7 separate regions of the Homo sapiens genome follow, and all the other regions are linked to region 1. The links are contacts of gene promoters, found by promoter capture Hi-C in blood cells and fetal thymus (Javierre and others, 2016). All regions are on one chromosome and are shown on one strand. Each heading gives the region's core, a stretch centred on a gene start or on the middle of the fragment in contact. The rest is flanking DNA. Distances are from core to core; before and after follow the strand shown.

Region 1 (3,574 bases), core at 535-3,034:
AAGCTAAACAATTATGTATATGATCCTGAATGTAACTACTCCTCCTCCTCCTCCCAAAAAACATGGAAAGTTCTTGTAAGAATTTACTGTAGTGGTAGTAGTAATAACTATTACTATGGAATGGGTCAAAAATCCCAGAGCACACTAACCAAAACTGGGACATAGAATTAGGGGGAAAATAGAATTTTAAGTTAACAGGCAAATGATACACTTGAAAAAAATACTCAGCACATATGACAAAGGGCTAATTTAAATAACATTCAAAGAGACCTAATAAATCAACTTTAAAAAATATACAAAACAGAAAATGGTCATGGGACATGAAAGGTGATTAATAGAATACAAAAGGCCAATAAACGAGTTGTGACACCTGATTTTACTAATAAATGGAGATGCAAACTAAAACAGTGAGATTTCTTTTTCATATCACATTGGTAAATATTAATTTCAAAATGCAAGTATGCATACTATTGACACGGAAATTCCACTTCTAACTTGTTTTTTCCTATAGAAACATCTGCGTAAGAATGCAAATATATATGTACCATAATTGCCGATATTTACTGAATATTTACATGCCAGCCACTATATAATCTAACAGCAACTCTAAAGAGTTAAGTACTGTTATTACTCCCAATTTGAAAAAAGAGAAATTAAGGTATAAGGTGGTTAAGTAAGCTGCCCAAGGTCACTTGACAATAAGTGAGAAAGAGGAACCGATTCTACCCGACTCCATAGCTTCAGTTATTTACCAACAGGCAACAGTCTACACACCCACTACACAGGGAAGTTCACTGCAGCATAAAATGAAATGAAACAACCCAGATGTCTACCAATAAAGGACAAAATAAATCCCGCCACATCCATACAATTTACTCTATGTATTCAATAAAAAGATATATATGTACTTATATGGAAAAGTATCCAAGAAACATTAAATTGAAAAAGAAAGTAACAACATAGAATTGCATTTGTTTAAAAAAATTTTTAAGTAAATAAATAAAACACATACAGGCATAGAGAAAAACTCTGGAAGCGGTGAACCAAATTGTAAACAGTGTTTATCTTTGAAGGCCAGGATGAAGTGGCCTACCATTTTCTTGAACTCCTGAGCTCAAAAGATCCACCCGCCTCGGCCTCCCAAAGTGTGGGATCACAGGCGTGTGCCACCGCGCCCGACCATTTTCTAAATAATTTTATTAACATCTAAAGATGTTTGCAACAAGCATGCAATTTAACCAGAAGAAAACATAAGCTGAATGATCAACTGCTTCTATAGCCCTGTGGGTCCTGGGGTCCCAAGGGGAAGAGTTGGGTACTGAGGAATACAATTTTCCCACTTGGTATTCTAAAAAAAAAAAAAAAAAATTTATTTTAGAACAAAGACCTAGAACGCTCACCATCGAAATAAATTTGAGCAATCGTGTTCTACTCTCTTAAGTACAGTAGACACGCAACAAGTAAACATCGAGTGCGAAGTATAAAATCCGTACCAAAGCCAGAAATCTACAAAAAAAATAAATAAAACCGCGTGAGCCGAGATGCTTAAAGGGCAGACGCCCACCATCTGCGGGGACCCGCGGTAGGAGGTTAGCGGAGGGCGCGGGGAGGACGTACCTTGGATGAAGAGCCTGGCAGGGAGAGACTGCCGCAGTTCCGGCTCGGCTCCGCGCGGAGAGAGGGCCGCACGCCGCCGGGCTCGCGCCTCAGGCCCACGGTGTATCCTGCCCGCGGCGGCCAGGCGCCAAGCGACGCTTACCTCCTCCGCGACGTTCTCTAACACACAAAACACTTCCGCAATTCAAATTTGAAGAGCCCGCCCTCCAGCCAGCCCGGGATTGGCACGCTCGGGAATTGCGCCACCGTGCGTCTCACAGGGACGCAAGAAAACTGCAGGCGGCCTCTGCACTCCGTGGACGGCAGTGTGTCCACAAAAAGTAGGCGACCCTAAGCTGTCACAGGCAGGGGGCGAGCTCCTCTAGTTGTCTTCAAAGTTCGTTTCGTCTTCGTAGGGCACGCGCCCACCCTGAATCCCGCCTTTCCTCTCGTGAAGCTCTGCCGGGACAAGGCTGACGTGGGACGACGTGGGACGCCGTGGGCCGCGAGCACGCCCCGGCACTACTGCGGCTAAGTTTGGCCTTTCCTGGTTGCCGTCCTCCCCTACAGGCTGTGCGCCGTAGCGGCTGTTATCCTTCTTTTCCGTCTCAGGAAAACAGCGTGCTTGGTGGGTTTGAGAGAACTTCTGTTTTTCTGTCCTCCATGTTTGAGGCGGAGAAAGAACATTTTGTTCTTGAGGTGATGATGGATTGAATGTAAAGTTACGCACAAAGTGGGATGTTTAGTTGGAACTGTTCCCTCAGGAAATACGATTTTTTGGGCGTGGGGGACAGGGTTTCGCTCTGTCGCCTAGGCCTGAGTGCAGTGGCGCAATAACGGCTCACTGCAGTCTGGAACTCCAAGGGATCTTCCCACCTCAGCCTCCGAGTAGCTGGAACTACAGGCGCGCGCGACCATGCTTGGCTTATTTTTATTTTGTAGAGAGGAGGTCTCACCATGTTGCCCAGCCTAGTCTGGAACTCCTGGGTTCAAGCGATCCTCCATCTCGGCCTCCCAAAGTGCCAGGATTACAGGCAACCGCACCGAGCCAGGAAGTGATTAATTTTTTTTTAAGTCACTTCACATTCCAGAAACATTAATCTCGACAACTCTAGGTTGCTGTAAGCAGCTTGTGACGGTGGCCCCCAGACTGCGTCCCGCTTTAGACTGCACCCAGTGAATCTCCACTCTAACCACCGCGGAGTGACCGGGTGTATTCTTCGCCTTGTATAGGGCACATTGGTTCAGTCTTGAAAGTAGAGAAGGGGAAGCCAGGGTAGTAAGGTGTGTTCTCAGCCCTGAACCCTGTCCAACTCCAGTCCTGCATGAAGTCTGTCCTCTTCCCCCCATCCGCATTTGTGACAACAGAGCTTCTTTTTATTTTATACTTCCATCTAAGAAAATTAGTCAACTTCTAGTCACATACCACATTTCCCCATTAAGAGGCTTTACTGAAAAGGTGGTAATTTTTTTTTAAAGTGACTTTTGCAGTCCCTTCTAAATCCTGCATGTACTAAATTTTGTACACACTGAATAATCAAAATCCAAAATATAAATTTAAAACATCCACGTGAATGCAAATAAGGAAAAACAGTTGGAGGTAGGGGGAAAGGAAGCAAACTTACCTGGATAAAATGAAGTTTCTTTCTTGTACACCATAATGAGAAAATGGTTGGACATGGATTTGCACTACTTTTTTGGGAAAAACCCACCTTAAAACAGGTTAAATGGCATGTATGAAATATACTTTGATAGAGGAAGTTTGAAGGGATGGTCATTCAGATTTTAAAGCACCTGAAATTGAGGTATAGGACGTTTCTGTGCCTGATGAAGATGGCCGTGGCTCACACATTTAGACAAAATAGGAACCCTGAAGTATTAACAGCAGGCACTCAGAAATGCACACTTTTTTTAAATTAGCCACTTCTCATGTAAGAAGGAAGTAGTATGTAGTATGTCCCAATGTGAATGGCCACAG
Region 2 (3,574 bases), core at 728-3,227, 390 kb before region 1:
TGAAAGGGAAGCTCAATTTTAATCTCATCATAGAACTCTGGGTTTTGATTGTGATGTGAGACAACAGCATAAGCATTTGTGGTAAAAACAGACCCTGCAGGTTTTCCATAAATACACTTTAGAGCACTTTCATCTGAATCCCGGAATTCCATACAGACTGCAATGTTCCTTGCCTTGGCAAATGTTTTCTAGCTATCGTATTTTAATTGCAAGGGATATACATACAGATGGTTTTCGTAAATAGTAAATGGATAACAATATTTTGTCATTTCTGGAACAAACTCTTCAACCTCCACAGTAATATTTTGACAATTCTTTTCAAAAGGCTTCAGAGGCACATATGAAGAAGTAATACAATTTGATAAATCCACAGGAACACATTCTATTGTGATGTTTAACTGCCCAGGAATAATCTGCAGTTTGGTCTTTTCTGGCTTCTTATATTCTGATAGCAACTTGAGAACGTCTTCATTTGAAAGCTTGCTACTCTTGTTTATACAGAGAAGAAAATCTCCCATCCAGATAGAGAAAGCCTTGAGTATCTTTGAAAATGGATCTGGCAGCCCTAACAAAAGGCATTCTGTATTGTCCAAAATGGCTACACACTTGTTTAGCTGTCCTGGGCACCTTCTGGGCCGTCTTTACTGAATCAGAATTTTTGATGTAGGGTTCTGCATGGTATGTAATGTTTCCCTGTAGCACCTTTTCGATTCTCGCAGCTAGAAAAATTTCAGGATGTGGATTCATCACTGAGAAAATTCCCTGTTTTATGTAGCATAACTGAGATTCAGAAATTCCATGAATGAAAGACTCAGGTGAAGAGCCCTTTGGGTTACTGTCACTGCACAGTTGGATTGAAGAGCCCCACAGCATTTCATGGACAGATGGGGGATTCAAGTCTACATGAAAGTCTGCTGAAATCTCACAATTGTTCTTTACATCAAATAAGGCAAGACTGATTTTAAAAAAGGGTGGGGGGCTCAACATTTGTGGGTGGTCCTTTTGCATTGTCTCCAATTTGGCCCAAGATATTGAAAGTTAAATCATGGCAATTTACCAGGAAACGTTTGTTGCACTTTTCTTCAAATGGCTTTATATCAGGTTCAATTCCTGAAAAGTCCAACCTCTGAACTTCTGAATCAAAAGAAAAGAGATTCTGTCTTCCATCTCCGCTACTGAGTTTGTTTAGTTGTTCAGTTTCTCTTCCATACTTCATCATTTCCGGATGCATGCTCCTTTCCAAACTTGCCATGATGTTATCGGCTTTTCGTTGGCTACTAGTTTCATCATCTGAACATCAATGCAGGCATCCAAGTAGATGCAACCTTTCGATTCTTTTGAATTTTTCTCATCTTTATAGGAATTGAGAATATATTAACCTCAGGAAGTTGGGTCAAGTAAAAATATCGTCTCTTGAATACCTTCGTGGTTACTGTGATGGTGCTATTTACATTTGCCTTATGCAACCAGCCTTGTTTTATCACACCACCCTTCTGATAACATAAAGCAGGTAAGTCCTTATCTTTCTCACAGTCTTCATCTATCTCAAATACGTGATTAGGAATTTTTTCTGGTCTCAAAGTTTACCACGTGCCAATCTGTGCTACAGGTTTTAATACACTCTTTGACAAATAAACTCTGGGCCCTCTTTTCGTCTTCTGGTACAGTGGATTGCACCGTTCTGTGCTGACGACCCATCACCGAGACAGATATATCTTCCTTGGGAAACATAAGCAGATCTCTGAGGGGGTTGCTGTAAATCTGGGTTTTTATTTGGGCGATAACATTCTCATAGTCCAGGGGGTCAACAACTTTGGACTTTTCCAGCACCAAGGAGCCCCACACGGCCTCTGACACTCTGCCAGAGTTCAGCTGCTGTGCCCAATTTACATCTTTTATATGTCATGTATCTATTAACAAATTATTGTAGCTATTGTTTTTTTTAATATATCATTTAATTTTTATATAAGTGAAAAGTGAGCTGGCCCTGTTCCTTGGTCAGCAAGTAGACAGTCCTGCAGTCTGAGTTCACAGGGGCCAGCCTGCTGCCTATGTCTACTGGAAAAGATCTGGGGCCTGAGTCTGCGTGGATGGGCCTGGTGCCTGAGTCTGCAGTGGTAAGCCTGGAGCCTGGGTCTGTAGGGGCTGGCTTGGCCCTTGGGCCTAAAGGAGCAGGCATGGAGTCTGGGATCACTAAGACCAGCCCAAAGCCTGGGTCCACACAGACTGACCTGGCACTGCGGCAGGGCTGATGTCTGGGTCTGTGGACATGGGCCTCTTCCTGAGTCCTCAGGAGCTGGCTGGGTGTCACAGTTTACCCAGGATACCTTGGGGTAGGCTTAGTACCTGTGTCTATAGGAACAGGCCTGGTACCTGGGACTATGAGGGCAGGCCTGGAGACTGGGTTTTGGGGGATAGGCCTGGAGCCAGTGTCTAATGGAGCTAGCCTATACTCTAAGTCCATTGGAGCATATGGCTTTAGGGATGATCTGGAGGCTATTGCCCCATGGGCCTCCCTGGTACTGGGGCAGGTCTGGAGCCTTCCAACCACAGGAATGGGCCTAGAGTTTGGGACCACAGATGCCAGCCTGATGCTGGAGCAGGCCTTGGGTCTGGGGCTGCAGGGACTGACCTGAAGCCTGAGACCATAGGGGCTGGCCTTGTGCCCGTGTTCACTGGACCAGACCTGGTGCTGGGATCCACAGTGAAGTCTGCTCACTACACTCTCTTTCCCTCATGTGATGGGTCTCTTTCTGCACTGCACTGTTTAGGTTTGGGGGAGCAGTGATGCTGGCAACATGAAACTGTCCTTCCTACCCTCTTAAATATGCCTTTTCTTATATCCGTGCTCTACCCAGGTGCTGTAATCTCTCATCTGGATTCCTTGGCTCTTACAAAGGTATTTTTGTACATGCGTGGTTGTTCAAATTGATGTTTCTTCAAGGGGATGAGTGCCAGAAACTCATATTCTGCCATCTTGCTGATGTCAGCTCCTCTAATACCCAAGACAGCAGAGGAACAACTGTTTTTTTCAGATAGAGCTCTGGACTTGAGGTTCTTTTTAAATAGAGACTTCATACAAAAGATCTCCAGTCTGTCTACATTTTCAAACATAGAATCTATAATTCAGTGACTGCCAGGTTCTCAAAAAACTGTTAGTTCTTTACCCATCAATCCCAGAAGATTCATTAATCAGGGAGTAATTGGGATATATCACCAGGCTAGGAGTTCTCTACCATCAATGAACAGAAGAGGAGGTATATAGTCCCAGCATTTCTCCTCTCACCTCTGTACCCTCTCCTCCTTAGATGATTCAATTCACTCCAAGGATAAAAGTGGAGAAATCTATTAGAAGCAAAACTGCACATTCTGGATAAGACAAATCCAGGGAAAGATGGGCTGTGATGCCTTCCTACTCCGTTAACCTACTTTAAATAGAATGTTTAATCTTAAATATGTTCTCATTACTCTGGACTTAAGCTTAGAACCCTGTTCCTAAAGAAGGAAATGTGGCTTAGAAAAATAACAAATTTATAACCAATCATTGCAGGCACCCGCTGGACTTGGCAAACCA
Region 3 (3,574 bases), core at 732-3,231, 340 kb before region 1:
GGGATTACAGGTGTGAGCCACCACGACCAGCTATTAACTTACTTTATAATTTGGGTGATGCGAGCAAATTTTCCTTCTGTTCTGTGATACTACCTACTCATAAGTCGGGGGAAATATACAACCAAGATGCGTTTGATAAAGTTGGCTGTGCTCTCTGCCAACATTCCCGCTAAAATATTATTTGTAAACTGACCCCTGGGGTTTCTTCACCTATTTCCTCCCAACCCTCATGGCTTCTGAAATTTCCCCCTCTTCCTTCAGCTCTCTTTTTGAGAAGGCTTAGGAATTTTATCCTCAGCAAGCTTATAAAATGCCAGAAGACCTAATTTAGGATTGTCCTTTTTCACCCAGGAAAAAGACTGGATTTGCAGACTAAGTGAATCATGCTATATGATCAATGAATTATCTCTTTTATCATTAGTTCTTGATTGATTGTGTTTTCAGGCTGTCGAGGAAAGGCAAGAATATGGCAGTTAAATCCGGATTTTGAAGTTAGATTGCCTGGATTCAAATCCAGGCTCAGTCATGGGCTGTGTAGCTTTGGGCATGTGACTTAACCTATTTGTTTCCTCACTGTAAAGTGGAGATAATACTAGAATATATCTCATAAGGTTGTAGTGAGGATTAAATGAATTACTATATATAGCACTTACTGCCTGACACATAGTAAGCACTATGAAAGTGCTAGCTGCTGAGGCAGGAGAATAGGGAATTAGGGTAACCAAGGGTTAATGCATAAGCAAAAGAACAGCAGGCGCAGATAGTTCTAGGCAAGATTAGGCAGCATACAGGCTACATCTTGGCTCCTGTGATAACAAGACAGAAGTTTCCGCTTCAATCTGTGATTGACTGCAGGGCAAGCCTCCACTTCAGCCTCTGGTTGGTCGTAGGCCAATCCTTCATAGGGTGTAACCAACTGGAGGCCTCCAAATGTTATGTAGGGGTGTTGCCCATGTTCTTTTGGCTTTATAAAAACCTTGGGGAGCATTTCAGTAGCGGGACTCTTGAGCTGCCTCTTGAAGCCCATTCCCAGTCTGTGGAATGTACTTTCACTACAATGAATCTGTGTTTTCATTACTCTATTCTTTTGTTGCTTTGTCTTTTGTTGTTTCTTTCTTTTGTTACTTTGTGTATTTTGTTCAATTCTTTGTTCAACACGCCAAGAACCTGGACAATTCACAGTTAAGAACTTCCCACCCAGTAACATTACCATTATGGATTCCTCTTTCAATATTTTATTAAGAAATTACAGCAAATTAGTGTGTAGTGTTGTTGCAGAAAATTAAATTCTATGCAAATATTTCAAGTTTGTTGGCTGAAAACCATTGCTGGTATTTCTGTGGAAATGAAGATCACAGAACAAATTACAATGTAAAAATAGTTTTAAAAAGTTAAATACATGAATTAGTTTAAAATGCAAGAACAAAGCAAAGCAAAAATTTGAAGAGAAAGTGAATAAAGTTTCCTAGACATCAAATGGTAAAATATCCCATATTGTTCCTGTTCAAAATCTTTAACCATTTAACCACCAGATACTATCCAAAATTGTTTATCCCCCTACCATAGTCTTCAGTGTTTATGTCTGCCCACAATTCATATGTTGAAACTCTCATCCCCAAAATGATGGCATTAGGAGGTGGGGCAAGGCAATTAGGTCATGACAGTGGAGCCCTCCTGGATGGGATTAGTGCCCTTAGAAAAAAGACCCAAGAGAGATGCCACACTCCTACTACCATGTGAAGGCATAGCAAGATTACGCCTATGAACCAGAAAAAAAGTGTTCTTACCAGAAACCAAATCTGCCTTTATCTTGGACTTCCCAGCCTCCAGAACTGTGGGAAATAATTTCTGTTGCTTATAAGCTACTCAGTTTATGGTATTTTGTTACAGCAGTCCAAATGAACTAAGATACCACCATGTATACATACACATATACACACTATATATGTGTGTATATACACACACATATACACACTATATATGTGTGTATATACACACACATATACACACTATATATGTGTGTACACACACACACACACACTATATATGTGTGTACACACACACACACATACACACTATATATGTGTGTACACACACACACACATACACACTATATATGTGTGTACACACACACATATACACACTATATATGTGTGTACACACACACACATATACACACTATATATGTGTGTACACACACACACATATACACACTATATATGTGTGTACACACACACACATATACACACTATATATGTGTGTACACACACACACATATACACACTATATATGTGTGTACACACACACACATATACACACTATATATGTGTGTACACACACACACATACACACTATATATGTGTGTACACACACACACATACACACTATATATGTGTGTATACACACACACATATACACACTATATATGTGTGTATACACACACATATACACACTATATATGTGTGTATACACACACATATACACACTATATATGTGTGTATTCACACATATACACACTATATATGTGTGTGTATACACACATATACACACTATATATGTGTGTATACACACATATACACACTATATATGTGTGTATATACACACACATATACACACTATATATGTGTATACACACACATATACGCACTATATATGTGTGTATACACACACATATACGCACTATATATGTGTGTATACACACACATATACGCACTATATATGTGTGTATATACACACACATATACGCACTATATATGTGTGTGTATATACACACACATATATGCACTATATATGTGTGTGTATATACACACACATAAATACACTATATATGTGTGTGTATATACACACATATATACACTATATATGTGTGTGTATACACACATATATACACTATGTGTGTGTACACATACATATATACACTGTGTGTGTACACTCACATATATACACTGTGTGTGTACATATATACACTATGTGTGTGTACACTCACATATATACACTGTGTGTGTACATATATACACTGTGTGTACACTCACATATATACACTGTGTGTGTACACACATATACACTGTGTGTACACACATATATACACTGTGTACACACACATATATACACTATGTACACACACATATATACACTGTGTACACACACACACGCACTGTGTGTGTGTACACGCACACACGCACTGTGTGTGTGTACACGCACACACGCACTGTGTGTGTGTATATACGTATATACACCATATATGTGCGTATATACGTATATAGTGTGTGTACATATGTATATATACACATATAGTGTGTGTATATATGACTTTGATATATATTTCTATATGTCTTAGACATATATAGATATACACATATATCTATATATAGACATACACATATACGTATATATAGACATATATGATATTGGTCTTTTAAAATCTGGCTATAAAACTTTTCCCAGACATACTCCTCTATTCAGTGGGAACCACCTACTCTATATAAAATTCTAGGACCCTTGCCTATTTAAATTCTTAACTCTTCTCAGGGCACACACAAGAATATACTTTATAAGACTTCTTTCCTGATCAGAG
Region 4 (3,574 bases), core at 340-2,839, 320 kb before region 1:
CAACCTGGTAAGCATAATTCAAATATTCCAAAATCCCAAATCCAAAACCTGAAACACTTCTGGTCCTAAGCATTTTGGATAGGAAATATTCAATCTGTATGAGGAGTGCTCCCTAAAGCATTTCTGTCAGTATCTTAAAACCTTTCCCTTAAAATGATGTGATGAGTTTGAGTTCAAAGATAACAATTTTTCCTAAACCACAAAAGTGGATTTGTTTTGTTTCTACGAACTCTGAAATACAACCCTTTTTGATCAACTATACCCCCTGGGGAAGAAAGAACATTTGAAAGTGAACATACAGATTACTGATATACAATAGAAAACAAAACAGAACAATCCGAGGATTGTATGTATGTAACATATGAAAAGATGACATTTGTTACATGGACAAAAGGAGCTTCTATAAATACACACTCTAGTATAAGCATTTCCCAAAATGTATTCAGCAAGTTTGAGAAACAATAATATGCACATTGGCATATAAAAGTCACAATAAAGAAATCTATATACTTTTGTCTAGCTAATTGTCTTTCAAGTTTACCACATACAAGTCTTTTTTTTTTTTTTTCTGGACAAGTAATATTCCTACTGCTATATTCCAAGGAACTATTATTGCAAGCACATCATTATAGAAAACATTGCCTTACATGTTTAGAAATTAATAAATTCTTATTACCTGTTCTAGGTTCTTTCATTGGTCTACACACAGTCCACTGATTTTGATGAGGATCGTATCTTTCAATGCTGGACAAATGTGAGACTCCATTATGTCCACCCACCACAAAAATAAAGCCTAGCATGACACCCACGCCAAAGTGAATCCTTTTATCTGCCATGGATGCAACCATCTCCCAGGAGTCCTTACTTGGATCATAACGCTCCACACTGCAAATATTTAAAAAAAATTTAATTTACAGATCTTTTGTGTCATTCTTCCTGTCAAAGCAAAACTAAAACCCACTACAGCTTTAAAAGTTCACATAATAGAGAGATATTAAACAAGAGTAGTCTGCCACAAATGCTTAGGTTTTGCTGATAAGATTGCAAAGATAAAAGCTTACCTTGTAAACAAGGTGCAATTCCATATGCTATTCCATTATATTGTGCAAGCGGCAAAGTATATTAAGAGCATAGAACTTGGAGTCAGAAGACCTGGGTTCAAGTACTAATTCTGTATACCTAGGGCTGAACGAACCTTAACCCTACTGCTGTGGATTTGTGTAATCCTGAATAAGTCATTTCCTCTCACCTGCAAAAATGAGGATAGTGCAACCTGAAGGGATTCATATAAGAATAAAGTCAAATGAGTATGCACGTGACTTTGAAAACCACTAACTGAATACAGACTTTTTTTTTTTGTTCCTAAATTTTATTTATTTATTTTTGAGGCAGGTCTCGCTCTGTCACCTAGGCTGGAGTGCAGTGACAAGATCAGAGCTCACTGCAGCCTCAAATTCCGGGGCTAAAGTGATCTTTCTGCCTCAGCCTCCTGAGTAGCTAGGACTAAAGGTACATGCCCCCATGCCTGGCTTGAATACAGAGGTTTTTAGGATCTTCTATACAGTTAAGGGGAAAAGAAGAGGAAGAGAGGGGTGGGGGGTGGGGAGAAAAACCTTTATTTTTTTTCGTCACAGGAGAATTCATGTGGCTTACTGCAAAGCAATCACTGTAGATTGCATAGTACAAACTGGCTGATCATAATTATCTCAGGGTGATTTAGGAGTACTCAGGAATTTGAGTCAAGACTGTGTTTCAGAGAACGTGTGGCATTTCTAAGCTGCATTATGGAATCCAAATTAAATCAGAATTTTCAAAAAGGCTTCCCTAGAAAATTCTAGCAGCTGTTTAAGACTATGGTTTCCTCTGAAGGTGCACAAAGGCACAGAGGTAAGATTGTTGGGCTTGTTCTGGCCCTAACCTATTTCCTGAAAAAACCATAAGCATTTAACAGGCTGTGACACCATTCTGGAGTTCATAATAGAGACTGGGTAATGTTTCTGAAAGAACTCCAGGATAGAATCCATTAGACCAAAATCATTGAAGAAGAGTTGATGCACTGCAGCAAGACTTTCAAGATAATCAAATTTAAAATACTTAACCTTTTATCTTACAAATTTTGGGCAGAAGCTTTTCAAAGAATAGAAATGCATGTCTATGTCCCATATTTTTCCTTCAACTAAGGGCAAAAAATATAAATAAATAAAAGGAGGAATACTTTGGCTTCAATAGAAGTAAAAATTTACAGATGAAATGCTGTTGTGCCATCACTTTCTCAGTCAACAAACCTCAGTATTTGTAGAGGATTGGTTCCAGGATCCACCCCATCCCAAGGATACCAAAATTTGCAGATGCTCAAGTTCCTTATATAAAACAGTATAATATTTGCATATAAGCTACACGTATCCTCTTGTATACTTTAAATCATCTCTAGATTACTTATAATACTATGCAAATAGCTGTTATACTGTATTATTTTGTTTTTTATTATTGTAAATTTTTTCAAATATTTTTGATCCACAGTTGGATGGATCTGTGGATGTAGAACCCGTGGATATGGAGGGCTGACTGTATGCCCTGTCATTAAAATACTCACAATCAAAATAACACAAACCACTCTAATTACTATTAAAGATACAATCTTTTCTTTTCTTTCTTTCTTTTTTTTTTTTTTTGAGACAGGGTCTCACTCTGTTGCTCAGGCTGGAGTGTAGTAGTGCATTCAAGGCTCACTGCAGCCTCAACCTCCTGGGCTCAAGCAATCCTCCCACGTCAGCCTCCCAAAGTATTAGGATTACAGGCGTGAACCACCACACCTGGCCAAAGATAAAACCTTTGGAACATCAATTTTCAATAAAGGTTCAGAATTACGATTAATTTCTCATATAACTAGTTACTTCATACTTTTATTTTCTCATATATATTTCTCCTTTATTCAGATAAAACTACAGAATACAGATATCACAAATTCAAACTCCAGCACAAGTCAAATACCTGATGATACATGTATGATTACAGGAAAGAATTCAGAAAGGAATATTTAAATAAGGTTTTAAGTTTATGATGTGCTATAATATTGTATAGACACACAGGAATTAAATTTCTACTTCTTTATTCTATTAAGCAATACAATAAAAGATAATTTACATACTGTGCACATAGATGTACACACCACACAAAATCTAAAGTTGTCTAACTTCATCTTATTTTTAGGTTTCTGAGTTTTAAAATCTAGTCCATTTATAGTGAATGAATGTAAAATTTAATGAGAGGGATTTGATTGTTAGGTTTGTATTAAATTCCCATGTAAAACAATTACAATTATATCCATGGAGCAGATTAAGTTTCCCAAATGCCGGAAGTTCATTCATACACACAAATTGTTTAAAACTCAGAAATCATTGCTAATGAGACTTTTAAAAATCCATAAACATATGCAATTTAATTATTAAGTTAAATACCTGTTCATGTGGGCAGGACCATACCCACCAATGGCATATATCATTCCATCCAATACCGCTGCAGCAAAACAACTTCTTGTTGTCGTCATTGGTGCCACAGGTTGCCATTTTCTTAT
Region 5 (3,574 bases), core at 404-2,903, 300 kb before region 1:
ATTTTTATCTTTGTCAAGTACGTAATTGTTTCATACTTATTTCACAATGAATTTTAAGTCAGTTAATAAATTATGTTAATATGGCCACTTTCCAGCTGGTAACAGCCTCCACTGCTGATCTCTGCAAATAATCTCACACCTATCTACTAGAAAAATTCTCAAATGTTATTGCAGTCATGGTATAAACAAGTCCCAAGAAGCTTCTGGGTCTTCCAGTAGGTACTTTTTTTCCAGAACATAATATATACTAGTAAGTAGATGGCAATCAGAAGGCATAAGTTTAGATCTGTACACGTTCTGTTAGTTATTCCAGTGTTGATCTTTTTAACCTATGTAACTTCTTTTAGCCTCAGTTTTATGAAAAAGTTAAAATCTAGACTTAAAAGTAAAGAATGAATAACAGGAAAGGCAAGTAGATAGAAAAAATAGGTAATGGGGTTAAGAAAGCAGTCCTCGTTAACTTTACCTTCTCAATCTTTGTTTTCCTTATTTGCAGAATGAGATCATAATAATACCTGTACTTTATTATTCAGGTATTAATGTAGCTGAGGTTTTTGAGGATCAAATCAGACAATGTACATAAAAACATGATAAACTGTAAGTGATATTGTACTACAGTAGTACTATGGTAGCAGTGAGGCGATAGAGATAAAACATATCAGTGAAGAACACAGACTTTGGAAATATAAGGTAATGAGTTTTAGTCCCATCTGAATCTTAAATTATATTATTAGGTGGAATAATAGGTACCAGCCTTTCTTAATCTAAGTATTAATTGTTTCATTCATAAAATAAGAATACCCCACTTATCTCAGAAGTTTACCTGAAAGTGATTCTCTAAAGTATAAAGTTCTACAAAATATACAGCTTGAGGTGTTAAGAATATAGTACTTACGTCTCACTGTACTAAATTGCCACTTCCCAATATCCCCACTTTCACTAATTCCCATTCTTTCCCACAATGACCTTTTACTCTTATGATGCTCATGTAATGACTATAGCTCTATATAAAACTTGCTATCTCCCAAATATTTTCTTACCACACGTTAGATTTTGTCTATAACCTTTCTCCTCTGATCTTCCTTTCCTCCAATTCAAATTCTCAAAACTCAAGATCAAAAATTAACTTTACCTGGACGTCTATAAGCATTTATTTACTATATCCCTTTACATGCAATTAATTCAATTATACGTGTTGCTCTGTAAAACATACCCCTTTCAACTCTCATTTTCTGATTTAACAAGGAGAATGGTAGACTAAAAAGTGAAGGATGAACAACAGAAAAGGAAAATGTATGCGAAAAATAAGAGAAGGGATTGAAAAAGGAGACCTAGTCACTTTGTAAATTCATCTCTCTCTCAGACTAAACAATTATGTTTCAAGATATTTAAAAGAGCCTGCAAATGAGATTATTGAATCATTACCAGTGCCACAGGACTGAAGACTATTTTCAAAAATAAGACAGTAAATTCTACAATATGGTAAGATTTCTGTTAATTTCAGATAACATTCTAAAACAAATTATTAAAGATTTGACTTGTGAATACCGATAAGAAGATGTAGAGATCTTTAGGATTAGGATATATGAGCTAAAAATAATAAGACATGTTACAGACTAGGTTTGTTTCTTTTTAAAAATTTATTTAGAAGACTTGTAGATCAGAAAAGTAGACTTGATATTTAACTAGATATTAGTAAATAATTTTATAATGCCCTTCATGATTTTTCAAAGAACAAAACTAAAAAAATATATAAGCTAGTTCAGTTAGCTAAATCAGCAACTAGTGGAACAAATACCCCCCAGAGTATACCACTTAATGGAATGAGGCCTAGAGGGATGCTTCTAGTGGTATTCTGTAAGGCCAAGATGAAGATATTTTATGTCCTGAACTTTGAAGATGACATGAAGCTGCAAAGGACAGCAAAAGCATTGACTAACACAATAAGGATCCTGAAAGACTTATATCTAACAAGAAGAAATTTAAAAGGGATAAATGTAAAAATTCTATAGCAGATTCCAAACCAACTACCCAAGTATAGAATAAGAGAGAAAAGACGCATCTGTAGAACGTGTTTAACAGGTTTAGGGATTTTAATTGCAGTACTATTTTAACACCATAAACTTATGTGGGTTTAAGCTGCATTAACAGAACTATAATATACAGAACTACAGAGGAGAAATTTTTGCTTTGCTCTGCAAATGTCAGTCCATATCTGTACTACAGATTTTGGGTATCATCCTTTGACAGGGATCTAAACAGACTGTAACACCTGATGAACAGCAGAAATTCAAATCATGTCTTACAGGTAATGGAACAGAGGTACTGAGTCTGGGAAAAAAGGAGGTCTGAGTTATCACATGAAAAACCAAGGAATGAAGGTTACTCAACAACAACAGGAATAATAATTATAATATAGGGTTGTTTTGAGGATTAAACGAGTTTATACATAAAAAGGGCTCAGAATAGGGCCTATCACTTAGTAGGCTCTTAATAAATATGAGTTATTACTAGTAAATTCTTCGAGTTGTCCCTTGAGAAGTAGTCAACTTTCTATGTTGCACTACCTCTCACTATTAGATAAGAAACCCACTCTGTCTTCTCTGATACCCTGGGCAACACAAGTATCACAGAATTGTTGATTCTCAAATCAAGGTTATGAAGTATTGACTAGATTCATTTTTAATATAATTAGGAATCACATAGTGATAGATCCTATATTGTTAACCTAATTTTTGTGTACCCAATTCAAAACTGGTACACCATCAACATATGACACGCAAAAATGACACAACATAGGTCTGTAAATACACACATACATGTATGTACACACACAACACATAAATATACACACATGCATATATTTGTATGATATGCAGTATAGTTTTAAGAGACTGGGCTTTGGTACCAGGCTTCCCGGGTTACAATACAATGGTCTGTATTATGTGACCTTGGGAAATTCAGTCAAAAGTTTCAGTTTTCTCATTTGTAAAAAAATAGACAAAATTGTATAAAAAGCAGTTGTAAATATGCCTTTCTATGTGCTGGTACATAAGCACTCAGTAATTGGTAGACGTTATTTATTTTTACTGTTCATCAACCTTTAAAAAGCTTGGTTATTGCCAACTATATCCATGAAATGCCTTTCCATGCATACCAAAAAAGGAAGGAAGTTTGCTTACTGTCCAGGGAACAAATACCTACCAAAGCCAGGCCAAAGCCTCACTAATTCTATCAGTAAAGAGACATATGAGCCATTTTAAAATATAGATGGCTTATTAGATTTAGATAGTTTATTACTTACAGATTGAAAAGAAGATTAGCCAAAGAGTAAACTGCCTGGATCCTTGTCCCGCACATCAAAAATGGTAACACAAAAAAGGGGCTGGCCCCATGAAAACTATGGCTAAGCAGTTTTCTATTCTGTAGCTCTATTCTAAGGGTGTGGGATGGGGTCAAAAGTCTAACACCTAATCACAACCAGGGAAGTGAAGAGAAACTGTCTCATGACACACTTGTAGGGGAAATAGAGAGGTGAGTGGAAAATTGGGAGATGACCTCATAGCAGCTCCTT
Region 6 (3,574 bases), core at 304-2,803, 290 kb before region 1:
AGCCCAAATTGTAATTTTTAAATTACAAAGGCCAGGCAGGGTGGCTCACACCTGTAATGCCAGCACTTTGGGAGGCTGAGGCAGGCAGATAACCTGAGGTCAGGAGTTGGAGACCAGCCTGGCCAACATGGTGAAACCCCCGTCTCTACTAAAAATACAAAAATTAGCTGGGTGTGGTGGCACACACCTGTAATCTCAGCTACTCGGGAGGCTGAGGCAAAAGAATCACTTGAACCCAGGAAGCAGAGGTTGCAGTGAGCTGAGATCACACCACTGTACCCCAGCCTAGGCAACAGAGCAAGACTGCATCTCAAAAATAATAATAATACTAAAATAAATTAATTACAAAAAGAGTAATTTTAAAAAATTGTGACATTTCTTCTCTGTTTACTACCTGCAATTCTTTTTTTCTTGTATGTGTAATAATTACATATTATTTTTTGTTACTAAATTTTTTTTAACTTTTTCATGATAAAATTGTCCCAAATTTAACTAGTGGCTGGCTCCTGTGTCCTTTTAACATGACTGTTCTTTAGTCTTTGATTATTTCCTTAACATAACATTTGGACGATTGCTTGAGGCCAGGAGTTCGAGACCAGCCTGGGCAACATAGTGAGATCCCCATCTCTACAAAAATAAAAAAACTTAGCCAGGCATGGTGGTGCAGGCCTGTAGTCCCAGCTACTTCGGAGGCTGAAGTGGGAGGATTGCTTGAGCCCAGGAGTTCCAGACTGCAGCAGTGAGCCATGATTGTGCCACTGCACTCCAGCCTGCTCAAGAGTGAGACCCAGACTCAAAAACAAAATAAAACAAAACAAGAGTAACATGATGCCTAGCCTTACTTTGGTTTTTTTTTTCTTGCTTCAGACCTGGAATCAGCCATTTTTTTCAGAAGTCCTAGTACTGCCTTTTTATTGGGCAGTGGTATTTGAAAACAAAAGTCTGAGTATAGATTTGCTCATTGCTATTTCTTGCCATTGTGGTTTGACCCTTTCAGTGGACAGAACCAAGGAGTACTTGTTTTTTGTTTGTTTGTTTTTTAATGCATTTATATTAATACCTCCAATTCAAAACTAGTACTGCAGGGTTCTTTCTCATCTTCCTTTATTCCATATTTGAATCTCCCTTCGTTCACAATAAAATCCCTGCTACCCAACATCAGTAATATTTATTCATATGCTGTATCCTACAGTAACCCCCCTCCCCCCACAAAATTGCTAGACCAGCAACAGCAACCAACTACCTACTAAGTAAAGTTTAAGATTTCGTTACAGTTCTTTTTGTATTTAGAATTATTCCACAGTCAGAATTTTGTGGTCAAACTTTTCTTAAATTAAGTCTTTTATCTATGTAATTATTATTCAAACAGCATGATGAAAGATGAATAGGAGCTTGCTAAGTGTGGATAGGTCCCAGTGAATTTCAGACTAAAGGAATAGCGTGTTTAGAGACACTGATTATGTGAAAGAACTTAGCAAATTAATAAGAGAATGGGGAATTTTTGCACAGCAAACACAAGGGGCCTAGTGGGAAGTAGCAGATGATACTGGAGATGTAGATGGGGTAAAGTATGGAGATAATATCTTGCAAATAATGAGTTTGAACCTTCTGCAGTAGACCTCAGATGGGAGGAGGTGAATTGAGTGTTCTCTATGGTTCCTTTCAATCCCAAAACTTGTAGATTTTTTTGGAAATAATTTTCAGATTTATATAATCTGGTTATATGTTATTTCCTTGTATTATAAGCATTATCTGGTAGTGATGATTTTTTTTAAGGCATTACTCTTAAGACTGCTTGTCATGTGTCAAGTCTGAGATGTCAGTGTATATATTATTAAAAAGATTCTGGTGCCGGCCAAAGCAAAAAGAATCTGAAGATAAGTGCATTTCTGAAATGCCAGCATAGACATATTTTGCTTTTGAAAGATGCTGTGGTGTAATTAAAACTTAACCCAGAAATCAAGTTGTAATTACTTGTTCAAAAAAGGTCTTAGAAGAACTATTTTAATAGAGGACAGGGAATAAATATCTAAACAGTTTTATGTGTGCAGTTTAAAAAAAGTATATATACATGCATATTTTAAATTATTAGACTTTATTTTTTATTTATTTATTTTGAGACGGAGTTTCACTCTGTCGCCCAGGCTGGAGTGCAGTGGCGCGATCTCGGCTCACTGCAAGCTCCGCCTCCCGGGTTCACGCCGTTCTCCTGCCTCAGCCTTCCGAGTAGCTGGGACTACAGGCACCCGCCACCATGCCCAGTATTTTTAGTAGAGACGGGGTTTCACCGTGTTAGCCAGGATGGTCTCGATCTCCTGACCTCGTGATCTGCCCGCCTCGGCCTCCCAAAGTGCTGGGATTACAGGCGTGAGCCACCGCGCCCGGCCTGGACTTTAATTTTTAAAGCAGTTTTAGGTTCTCAGCAACTTTCAACAGAGAGTACAGATAGTTCCCATATACCCCTGTCCACACAAGAACAACCTGACCCACCTCATCCGGTACTTTAGGGGTACATTTGTTATAATCAGTGAACCCATATTAACATATAATTATCACCCAAGGCCCATAGTTTACATTAAGATTCACTCTTGTGTTGTACATTCTATGGGATTTTGGCAAATGTATCCATGTCTTATGTTCAGTACATTCTGTGGGGTTTTGACAAATGTATCCATGTCTTGTATCCACCATTATAGTATCATAACAATAGTTTCAGTGCCCTAAATTCTCTGTTCTCTACATGTACATTCTTCCCTCTCTCACCCCATTCCCAAGCCTTAGCAACCAGTGGTCTTTTTTTCTGTCTCCATAGTTTTGTCATTTCCAGAATGTCACATACTTGGAGTTATACAGTAGCTTGCATTTTCAGATTGGTTTCTTTCACTTAGTAATATGCATTTAAGTTTCCTTTATGTCTTTTCATGGTTTGATACCTCATTTCTTTCTTTCTTTCCTTCCTTCCTTCCTTCCTTCCTTCCTTCCTTCCTTTCTTTCTTTCTTTTCTTTCTTTTCTTTTTTTTTTTTTGTGAGACAGCCCAGGCTGGAGTGCAGTGCGATCTCGGCTCACTGCAACCTCTGCCTCCCGGGATCAAGTAATTCTCCTGCCTCAGGCTCCCAAGTAGCTGAGACTACAGGCCCACACCATCATGCCCGGCTAATTTTTTGTATTTTTAGTAGAGACGGGATTTCACCATGTTGGCCAGGCTGGTCTTGAACTCCCGGACTCAAGCGATTGCCCACCTTGGCCTCCTAAAGTGCTGGGATTACAGGTGCAAGCTACCACGCCTGGCCTATCAGATGTATCTTTTGAAAATATTTTCTCCCACTTTGTGTCTTGTCTTCTCATTCTCTTGACATTAACTTTCTCAGAGCAGAAGTTTTAAAGTTTTAATAAAGTCCAGTTAATCAGTTTTTTCTTGCATGGATCATGCCTTTGGTATCATATCTAAAAAGTCATCACCATACCCAAGGTCATCTAGGTTTTCTCCTATGTTATCTTCTAGGCATTTTATAGTTTTACAATTTACATTTAAGTCTATGATCCATTTGGAGTTAATTTTTATGAAGGGTGTCA
Region 7 (3,574 bases), core at 678-3,177, 270 kb before region 1:
AGTGAAAGCTTCCCCTTTTTCACTTACTTTTTTTTTTTTTTTTTTTTGAGATGGAGTCTCCCTCTGTTGTCCAGGCTGGAGTGCAGTGGCGCCATCTTGGCACACTGCAAACTCCACCTCTCAGGTTCAAGTGATTCTCCTACCTAGCCTCCTGAATAGCTGGGATTACAGGGGCACGCCACCACGCCTAGCTAATTTTTGTATTTTCAGTAGAGGTGGGGTTTTGCTATGTTGGCCAGGCTGGTCTTGAACTCCTGGCCTCAGTGTGATCCTCCCACCTCTGCCTCCCAAAGTACTGGGATTACAGGCATAAGCCACTGCACCTAGCCTGAACATTTTTTTCTTTAACATCAAATAATCTGTAATGGGATTTTTGATAGCTATTTAATATTATATAATATCGTGGTGTGTTTAACTTATCTCTTACTTTGGAATATTTAGACTTTTAATTCTGTTTTTGTTTCTGCTATTTAGTGGATTCTTTTTGTGCTCTGACATATTACAGATTGATAACCAGATTACTATGATATTTCAAGTTTGCATCTCTTTCTATGTATTTAGGAGTGTTTTAATGGGTTAGTGGCATCAAGTAAATCAGACATCATTAGCTGGCTACCATTTAGCTTTATTTTTCCTAACAGATTTCACTACAATGTGGTAGGAATCATAGTAGTCAGTAACCTAGACTAAAAAGTAAGGAGTATACTTGCTTCATGTGTATGTGGGCACGAGGTCTGTAGTTTTTTCAAGGTAGAGGAATTGATTATTGGAAGGTCACTGGGACATATAAAAGGGCAGTTTTAGTAGACTGTTACAGGCGGAGACCAAATTTAAAAGTTTATGAGGTGAATTGATGAGGAAACAGGCAGTAAGAAGTTATTCAGCATCTGTCTTTTTAATCATCTAATTTGTGCAAAACTGAGTGGGAGTTTATAAACTACTCTTTATAGCACTGCCGTAGGATTTTTGCCTCATTTAGTATTTAGCACATGTGAGTCATTTATTCCTTCTTCTCAATGATGGTAAACAGTATGATGGTAGGGACTGTTTTATTTTTTTGTTTAATTAGTTTTTGTTTTTGTAACAGCACTAACTACAGTGCTCTTCCCACAAATATCAACAAATACCTGTTAAATAAGAAAACATTTAAGGGTTTGACAGTGAAAGAAAAGACCAAGCAAGATAACAGCACAGGGATATAACAGGATAAGTTATTACTGTGCTTTATTTTTAAGTAAGGAACACCTGATTTGGAAGAGTCAGAAAGGAGCCATCTGTGAATTAAACATGCCGACTCTGTGTCTTTATTATGGTAGGTGTTAAACATGCAAAATGCAGGAGATTCAGTCTCTGCAGTCATACTGGAGAGGGAAAGGAAAGGAGATATGTTCCTAACTAAAGATTAAATGGGTCAAGAACACAAGTATAGAGAGAGGTTAGCTTTGGGATAGAGGAGGAAGTCTTTTTCTCTGAAGTTAAAGGAAAAACAAAGAGAAGATGACTTAAAATATTAAAAATTTTTGAGGTAGCAGGAAAGGGTGTGTGTTTTAAGTCAAAAGAAAGGAAGATATGAGTTTAGTGCAGTGTTTATCAAATTTTAATATGCAAATGAATTGCCTTAGGATCTTGTTAAAATACAGATTCTGATTTAGTTTGTCTAAACTGGGGCCTGAGCCTATATGTCAAATAAGCTCCTAGGTATTGCTGATGCTGGTGGTCTGTGAACCACTTTGTGAGAACAAGGCTTCCAGATTCTGTTAAACTAAGGGGCAATTAAAAATGAAAAATAGAACATTAGAGATTTTAAGAATGTGGGATTTAGAACAGTTAATATAACAAATTTGATAAGAAATTAGAAAAACTAAAATTATTAAATTGTACTAATGTGTTTGGTATGGGTTAATCCTAAAACTTGAGATTTTCCTTGGATGTTGGATTGTTTCTGAAAAGATTTAATTTTCTTTTTAAAATTATATTGTGATGCATGAAGAGTTTTAAAAACTTTTATTTTTTATGCTTGTGAAAATCATAAACGACACAAAAGCATATCTACTCTTAGTGTAAATGTTGCTTATGTCAGAGCTATGTAGAATGAACTGTTGGCAACAGGATATTTTACAGCAGAAAATGTAGAAGCTACTACCGGTATGTAAGTTTTTTGAGGCATTTGTTTTAGTCACCTTGCATGAATAGTGGGTAAACTAATTAAAATTTGGAGAACAATAAGAATATTAATTGCTATTTTATTTTTCATGTGGAAATTGAATTTAAGAAAGAGTTTATAGGACAAAACTTGTTATTACCTTAACATATGATTATGAGATATGTGTCTACAGATAAATGTTACAATGTTTATTAAGAGTAACAGTATTTAAAGCAAAGTAAGAAAGTGAGAATATCCATATCTTTTAGAAGAAATAAAGCGGTTAAAATGATTTAAAACAGACTAAAGACATGGAAAATATTTTAATGGTACATAATAATAATAATATTAAAAATATATCCATTTTTGTGAACTCACCATTTCTGTGATTGTTAATATATCTTTAGACACATACAAACATGGAATTAGATAACATCTAAAATTTCAAAAATTTTAAATAAATTTAAACATAATTAACCTTAAAAGTATATTAAATAAGACAATGTATATATTATATTTATTGTTATCATCTTAAAAAAGCTGTAACAGCTAGAGGCAGTGGCTTGTGCCTGGAATCCCAGCAATTTGTGAGGCTGAGGCTGGAGGATCACTTGAGGCCTGGGCAATATACGAGACCCTGTCTCTAAAAAAAAAAAAATGCAAATAAATTAGCTGGGCGTGGTAGTGAGTGCCTGTAGTCCCAGCTGCTTGGGAAGCTGACGTAGAAGGATCGATAGAGCCCAGGAGTTCAGGTGTGCAGTGAGCTATGATCGTGCCACTGCACTCCAGCCTGGGTGACAAAGTGAGACCTCATCTCTAAAAAAAATAAAAATAATTAAAAATAATAATTAAAAAAGAAAATGGAAAAAAGAGCTATACCAGTTCCCTTAATAATGGGCAAAGCATATCGATTACCTTGTATACATATTTCTATTTCCCTGTAACTTTTGTACCTAGGAAAATGTCAGCTTTATGTATTAAATACAACTTTACCCAAATAAACCAACTTTTGTTTCCTGTCAGACACAGAGAAAACCAAAAGTCATGTAACCAAAACTATCTTTTTTTTTTTCTGAGATGGAGTCTCGCTCTGTCACCCAGGCTGGAGTGCAGTGGCGCAATCTTGGCTCACTGCAACCTCTGCCTCCCAGGTTCAAGTGATTCTCCTGCCTCAGCCTCCTGAGTAGCTGGAATTACAGGGGTGGACCACCACGCCTGGCTAATTTTTGTATTTTTAGTAGAGACGAGGTTTCACAATGTGGGTCAAGTTAGTCTCGAACTCCTGACTTTGTGAACCGCCCGTCTCGGCCTCCCAAAGTGCTGGGATTAACAGGCGTGAGCCATTGTGCCTGGCTTTCAGATCCTTTTTAAGCGGCAAAAATAAGCATGTGTGTTAACATCATCCCAAAGCATATATGTATCCTTTAACTC

The links. Contacts are between HindIII fragments. The CHiCAGO score rates a contact against its expected background, and 5 or more counts as called.
Region 2: a contact is called between a fragment that was not itself captured here and the fragment with the promoter of MIS18BP1 in region 1, in 2 of 17 cell types (non-activated CD4 T cells and total CD4 T cells). The highest score is 7.6, in non-activated CD4 T cells.
Region 3: a contact is called between a fragment that was not itself captured here and the fragment with the promoter of MIS18BP1 in region 1, in 17 of 17 cell types (non-activated CD4 T cells, M2 macrophages, total CD4 T cells and 14 more). The highest score is 17.6, in non-activated CD4 T cells.
Region 4: a fragment that was not itself captured here is called in contact with the fragment with the promoter of MIS18BP1 in region 1 in 17 of 17 cell types (activated CD4 T cells, total CD4 T cells, non-activated CD4 T cells and 14 more); the score reaches 17.6 in activated CD4 T cells.
Region 5: a contact is called between a fragment that was not itself captured here and the fragment with the promoter of MIS18BP1 in region 1, in 11 of 17 cell types (monocytes, total CD8 T cells, non-activated CD4 T cells and 8 more). The highest score is 8.4, in monocytes.
Region 6: a contact is called between a fragment that was not itself captured here and the fragment with the promoter of MIS18BP1 in region 1, in 15 of 17 cell types (monocytes, total CD4 T cells, naive CD8 T cells and 12 more). The highest score is 13.9, in monocytes.
Region 7: a fragment that was not itself captured here is called in contact with the fragment with the promoter of MIS18BP1 in region 1 in 1 of 17 cell types (neutrophils); the score reaches 6.6 in neutrophils.

The regions. Positions count from the first base shown.
Region 1 is chr14:45,251,418-45,254,991 of GRCh38, forward strand. It overlaps MIS18BP1 (MIS18 binding protein 1), which reads right to left and starts at 1,785. Exons shown (of 17, transcript NM_018353.5): 1 at 1,618-1,785. LOC107984674 (a long non-coding RNA gene) reads left to right here and starts at 1,874. Exons shown (of 4, transcript XR_001750746.2): 1 at 1,874-2,224. RefSeq lists enhancers at 1,754-1,813, 1,914-2,093, 2,003-2,952, 2,114-2,303, 2,374-2,433. The HindIII fragment of the contact is 13,340 bases long and covers 1-3,574 here.
Region 2 is chr14:44,864,359-44,867,932 of GRCh38, forward strand. It overlaps the pseudogene DOCK11P1. Among named protein-coding and RNA genes, the nearest start is that of DORIP1, 31 kb to the right of the region's middle. The HindIII fragment of the contact is 3,001 bases long and covers 478-3,478 here.
Region 3 is chr14:44,914,215-44,917,788 of GRCh38, forward strand. No RefSeq gene overlaps it. Among named protein-coding and RNA genes, the nearest start is that of DORIP1, 19 kb to the left of the region's middle. The HindIII fragment of the contact is 3,362 bases long and covers 301-3,574 here.
Region 4 is chr14:44,930,657-44,934,230 of GRCh38, forward strand. It overlaps KLHL28 (kelch like family member 28), which reads right to left. Exons shown (of 5, transcript NM_017658.5): 3 at 3,459-3,574; 4 at 677-885. Among named protein-coding and RNA genes, the nearest start is that of KLHL28, 30 kb to the right of the region's middle. The HindIII fragment of the contact is 1,071 bases long and covers 1,055-2,125 here.
Region 5 is chr14:44,947,716-44,951,289 of GRCh38, forward strand. All of the region lies in intron 1 of KLHL28 (kelch like family member 28), which reads right to left. Among named protein-coding and RNA genes, the nearest start is that of KLHL28, 12 kb to the right of the region's middle. The HindIII fragment of the contact is 2,911 bases long and covers 199-3,109 here.
Region 6 is chr14:44,966,161-44,969,734 of GRCh38, forward strand. All of the region lies in intron 1 of TOGARAM1 (TOG array regulator of axonemal microtubules 1), which reads left to right. Among named protein-coding and RNA genes, the nearest start is that of TOGARAM1, 5.8 kb to the left of the region's middle. The HindIII fragment of the contact is 5,365 bases long and covers 1-3,574 here.
Region 7 is chr14:44,981,815-44,985,388 of GRCh38, forward strand. All of the region lies in intron 1 of TOGARAM1 (TOG array regulator of axonemal microtubules 1), which reads left to right. Among named protein-coding and RNA genes, the nearest start is that of TOGARAM1, 21 kb to the left of the region's middle. The HindIII fragment of the contact is 3,843 bases long and covers 7-3,574 here.